2 separate regions of the Homo sapiens genome follow, and region 2 is linked to region 1. Evidence: promoter capture Hi-C in 16 types of primary human blood cells and fetal thymus (Javierre and others, 2016). All regions are on one chromosome and are shown on one strand. Each heading gives the region's core, a stretch centred on a gene start or on the middle of the fragment in contact. The rest is flanking DNA. Distances are from core to core; before and after follow the strand shown.

Evidence for each region. Contacts are between HindIII fragments. The CHiCAGO score rates a contact against its expected background, and 5 or more counts as called.
Region 2: a contact is called between a fragment that was not itself captured here and the fragment with the promoter of YWHAE in region 1, in 1 of 17 cell types (neutrophils). The highest score is 5.6, in neutrophils.

The regions. Positions count from the first base shown.
Region 1 is chr17:1,398,813-1,401,635 of GRCh38, forward strand. It overlaps YWHAE (tyrosine 3-monooxygenase/tryptophan 5-monooxygenase activation protein epsilon), which reads right to left and starts at 1,410. Exons shown (of 6, transcript NM_006761.5): 1 at 1,235-1,410. The coding sequence starts at 1,298. RefSeq lists enhancers at 1-632, 633-1,270, 1,271-1,908. The HindIII fragment of the contact is 7,246 bases long and covers 1-2,823 here.
Region 2 is chr17:1,676,770-1,679,592 of GRCh38, forward strand. It overlaps PRPF8 (pre-mRNA processing factor 8), which reads right to left. Exons shown (of 43, transcript NM_006445.4): 10 at 2,522-2,641; 11 at 2,248-2,437; 12 at 1,993-2,112; 13 at 1,749-1,883; 14 at 796-925; 15 at 207-403. Among named protein-coding and RNA genes, the nearest start is that of PRPF8, 6.7 kb to the right of the region's middle. The HindIII fragment of the contact is 3,942 bases long and covers 1-2,823 here.

The DNA.
Region 1 (2,823 bases), core at 160-2,659:
GAAAAAGGACTGGAGAACCCATTAGGGGCAAAAGAACAACGAACAAAGAGGACCTACTAATATTTCTACATAAACCCATTTATTTAAAACGGAAAAAAAGAAAGCAACAGGATCTTCAACCTTCATAACTCAAAAAACCCAGCCTCAGCCGAGCGCCTGGAATAGGTTAAGATCCCCCACGAAGTACAGACCAGCATTCCGAGCCTGCAGAGTCAACCAAAATACAGTTACTGAACACTATTGGAAATAACTTTATTTCAACAGGTCTTCCCATTTGTCATCACGGTGCGCACAAACTGTAAAGTCATCGTTTTTACAAACGGGGGGACGGAGGCTCGGGCTCTACAAAGGCTCGAACTCTCAGAGTCGTGGCCTCCTGGTTCTATCCATCAGAACCCACGGGTGATGGAGCCAGAGAAAGGTTACAGGAACTTCGAGATCTCCTGTTTTAAGTCTGAGGAAAGGGAGGGAGTGAGGATTTTCTGGGCCTCCCCAGAAGACGACGAGGAGGAAAAGCCCCGAAACCCCTCACTACGAGGTGCCGGCCTACGGGAAAGAAACCCGATCGCAGCATGGGAGCCTGCCACCGCCCGAAGACGAACTGCAGTGATTCCCACTCACCCCTCTCCCCCCACCATCATCCACGACTGTCCCCCACCTCAGGCCTGAGGAAGCCCATCGCTCTCAAAGGTCCTCCTTTGTGAGACTCCACGGCCGCCGCCCCACACGGGGCCTCCGGGGAAAAGCCACCGCCCCCACCCGCCATATTTCCCTGAAAGGCGCCCGCGCTACAGCTCCCGGTCTTCGCTCTCTCCCATGTGGCGGGTGCTGCTTCCCCCGTCACCCCACCCAATTGTTCTCCACATCCCAAGGCCGTCCCAGAAGCTCCCATGAGGGTGGCTCGTTCGGAGACAGCACCCGCCATCTCCTCCCCCTCCCCCGCCCCGGGACTCGCCCTCCCCCCAGCCGCCATTTTACAACCAACTCCTCCACCCCGTCGCCCCGGCCTCCCGGCCCGCGAGTTGTTTGCAGTTAAGGACGGCGAAGGGGTCACATTCCAGGGCATAGAGCCTCCCATCGCCCCGGGAGCTCCCAGGCCATTTCCTGCTTCCCGAACCCAAGCCCCCGGGCCAGGCTCGCAGACGATGCCGCCATTTTGTCTCCTGTTCCCGGCCTCTGTGGGCGGCGGCAGAGGGTCCGAGAATTCCAGCCCCCCGTTGCCCCCCCAACTCACCGTCGTATCGCTCAGCCTGCTCGGCCAGCTTCGCCTGGTACACCAGATCCTCTCGATCATCCATAGCGGCAGCGGCTCCGGCAGGGTCTGCGCGACGGATGGAAGCGGATAGTGTCTCCGACTCTCTCAGCCTCTCGCTCCGCGTCCGGGCAGCAAAAATGGCGGCGCCTCAATCCGGGACTTCCGCCTGCGCACGCGGACAACTGCTCAGCTCTATGGCAACCGCTCCCTGGCAACTGGCGCGGGGGGCGGGTCCTGGAACTCGGCGCCCGAAGCGGCTGGAACGAGCGCACGAGACGCCTCTCCTCTGTCGGCTCAGCGGGCGCCGGAGCCCAGAGGCGGGAACTGCGACTGCCGAAAGGGAGCGGCCCCCGGGGAACGAGAAGGGCTGAGGCGGGGCCGGCCGGGACTGCTCCTGAAAAAAGCCAGCGAGAGACCTGGGTCAGACCGGGGCCCGAGGCCCGACCTGCGGAAAAGAACGACGGAGGCTGTAACGGTTTCTGTCATGGCAGGTCTTCTTTCCCGAAATCTGAGGCTGTCACTACCGCGCCCTGGTTTTCTTTTCTTTTTTCTTTTTTCTTTTTTCTTTTTGAGACGGAGTTTCCCTCTTGTTCCCCAGGCTGGAGTGCAGTGGTGCGATCTCGGGTTACCACAACGTCCGCCTTCCCGGGTTCAAGTGATTCTGCTGCCTCAGCCTCTCGAGTAGCTGGGATTTCAGGCCCCCGCCACCACCCCCAGCTTTTGTATTTTTAATAGAGATGGGGTTTCACCATGTTGGCCAGGCTGGTCTCGAACTCCCGACCTCAGATGATCCGCCCCCCCTCGGCCTCCCAAAGCGCTGGGATTCCAGGGGTGAGCCACCGCGCCCAGCCCACGTCCTAGTTTTCTCGGCCAAGCCTGGTCATGGGCCTTTTTCAGACACTTTTAGACTCAGGGTAACGAACCGGGCCCTGGCCGGGCGCGGCGGCTCATGCCTGTCATCCCAGCACTTTGGGAGGCCAAGGCGGGAGGATCACAAGGTCAGGAGTTCGAGACCAGCCTGGCCAATATAGTGAAACCCCGTCTCTACTAAAAATACAAAAAATTAGCTTGGCATGGTGGTGCATGCCTGTCATCCCAGCTACTCAGGAGGCTGAGGCAGGAGAATCTCTTGAACCCGGGAGGCGGAGGTTACAGTGAGCCGAGATCCTCCCATTGCACTCCAGCCCAGGCGACAGTGTGAGACTGTGTTTCAAAAGAAAAATTATATATATATACAAAAATTAGCTGGGCGTGGTGGTGCATGCCTGTAATCCCAGCTACTCCAGAGGCTGAGGCAGGAGAATCGCTTGAACCCGGGAGTGGGAGGGTGCAGTGAACCGAGAGCACACCATTGCACTCCAGCCTGGGCAACAAGAGCACAACTCTGTCTCAAAACAAAGAAAAAGAAAAAAAACGAACTGGGCCCTGTTACAGTTGTCAGGGACAGGGGAGCTCCAGTTTTCACGCCTCAACTTTCCCCTCACACTGATCTTTGTCTTCTCCTGTTTAACCTTTTTCCCTCCCTAGGCCCACTATGAATAGGAGCAGGGAATTTGTTAGATGAGGGT
Region 2 (2,823 bases), core at 164-2,663, 280 kb after region 1:
TGTAGTCCCGGCTACTCAGGAGGCTAAGGAGGATCGCTTGAGCTCAGGAGCTTGAGGCCAGCCTAAGCAACATGGTGCTTCTTTTCCCTGTCTAAAAGGGAAAAGAAAAGAGATTGGAGCCAGATAGCCCCCTAATGATTCCCGAAGTGGTAATCCTACCCTAAAGACGGATGTTTACGCCTCCAAGGAAATAAAGAGACACCCACCTTCCAGGGAATGTTGGCTTTCCAGCAGCGCCAGGCTTCACTGAGGTGCTGCAGGATTGTCCGGGCCTTGTTCTGCTTGATCCCCTCAGGCATCATGTCCAGAATATCATGCATCACAGCTGCCCGCAGCTCAAGGTCAAAATGTGACTCCACTCGCTGCTTTGTTACTGTCTTTGCCACCCCCTTTGAGTGTCGACCTGGAAGTAGAGTGTCCCAAGGGGATTACAAGGAAGATTCCTTGCTTTCAATAAGGGTCTCTACCTTCATGCTCCTCACTCATTATGGTTATTAATAAAATTAGGTATTAACAAAGCGTCCCTGTGCCCAGCATATGCAAAAAGACGAGCTACCTTAAACATTCACAACTATGCTTCTGAGGAATTTCCACTCCTGCAAATGCATGACTGCCTCTCAAGGCCCCAGAAGGAAGCCCAAGAAATAGAATACTAGGTCAGACTCATTTCAGAACTGGACCTAAAGGCAATCCAGTAGGAAGAGTGCTCATACAAGAGCAGGGAACAGACTCAAACAGGGGCAGGTACTTTTGAAGCAATAACAGGAGAAGTTGGACACAGAGAAAACCACTCACCTTCAAACTGCCGGGCCAGGAGGTTGCCAAGCCATCGCTCTAATAAAGGGGTAATGCCACGCATGAAAAAGAGCCAGACTCGCCAACCGGCAGCCCAGAAGCCACAGCCAGGACCCTTCCCTACAGGGCCCTACGATCCCAAGCAGAAGTTAAGAATACAAGTTAGCAATGCATTTAAACAACAATAGAAACCTGGGCAGAGGTGGGGCATATATGTATAATATACATACAGAGGAATGTAGGTATGGCAGTAGAGGGGTAAAAAGAAAAAAAAACTCTGGGACCTCAACATCTAAAACAAAAGGGTAAATGAGAAACCTTAAGGCAAAAACCAGGAACTAAGATCGCCCATGTGAATTTAAAGGAGCAGTAAGGACACAGTCATAGCTGCTCTCCAAATAGGTCCCTGGAAAGAGCCCTGTCTAAATGTATACATGAAAAAAGATCTGAGAAAGTTAAGTCCAGTGAGGCTGGGCACGGTGACTCACGCTGGTAATCCCAGTACTTTGGGAGGCCGAGGAGTGTGGATCACCTGAGGTCAGGAGTTCAAGACCAGCCTGGCCAATACAGTGAAACCCCATCTCTACTAAAATTTCAAAAACTAGCCAGGCATGGTGGTGCGCGCCTGTAGTCCCAGCTACTTGGGAGGCTGAAGCAGGAGAATCACTTCAACCCGGGAGGCGGAGGCTGTGGTGAGCCAAGATCGTGCCATTGTACTCCAGCTGGGGCAACAGAGAAAGACTCAGTTTCAAAACAAAACAAAAAAAAAATTGCCAGGCGTGGTGGCGGGCACCTGTAATCCCAGCTACTCGGGAGGCTGAGGCAGGAGAATTGCTTGAACTCAGGAGGCGGAGGTTGCAGTGAGCCAAGATCGTGCCATTGCACACCAGCCCAAGAGACAAGAGTAAGACTCTGTCTCAAAAAAAAGAAAGTCAGTAAAGTCAAGGTCTCACCGTGTTGAAACGATAATAGATGAGATGCTTCAGGTCCTTGCACATGCGAATCTGTCGCATCAGCTTGTATTTGTATCGATACATGCCCGTCAACTGCCCAACATGGGCAAATATATACTGCAATCCATCTGCCAGCTGCAATACAATTGCCCCATCAGACCTGGAGCTTAAACCAGCTCCACGGTCAGCACAGGCTTCCTCCAGCGTCCTCACCCAGGCAGGGGTTGGGAATACCTAACCTTACCTGGAAGGCATCCACATTGCCCAGCCGATACTGCACGTGACTATCCACCACCAGCTTAGTCAAACGCAGAACTTCCCGACACAGGTGGAAAGCATTCCCAAAACGAGATTTCTTTCTTTCCTGGAGAAGATGCAAAAAACAGACAGAACGTGAATGAGCAATGGACCCAACTGATGTATGCCTTCATCAGTAACCAGAGGAAAACAACTGTCCGTCCTTGAAGCCCAGGAGGCCCCTAGGGTCCAATGCAGGCACCTTGGTGGTGAGCGTTTTCACAGGCTTGAGGTTGAAGTTGTAGTCCAGGTGCAGGTAGTTGAGGTTTTTGCGGTGAATGAGAAGGTTGAGCATGTTGTAGCCCTGGCGGCAAACCTGGAGCCCAACCTCCACCCAGTCCAGCTTTGTGGACTGAAAGAATTTGGTGGCTTTGAAGGAGCGGAACAAATACCTGAGGTGGGAACATGGAGAGTAAGAGTCAGCCTACTGATATCTCTGGAACAGAAGTCTGCGCAGGGCCCCTGGGGCACCTTACCTCTTCTTTTGAGCCTTAGGGGGCCGATGCTTCAGGGCATTCAGCACATAGTACTTAAGCAGCTTCTGGTAGGAGACCCTCACTTTCACAGGCTGCCCGGCAGGACAATGCTCCCGATACCTGGAAAAATAAGCCCACCAGAGTTTGGCCATCTCTTCTTCCAGACACTCTGCTAAAGGCTGCAAGCCTTGGGTTGTCTACCATTTTTATGGGAAAAAAAAAAAAAGAATTTAAAAAAAAGGCTACATGCCCACCTAGTTGGAGTCTTTTCTCCTACACATCCACTATCATTCCCCCTGCCA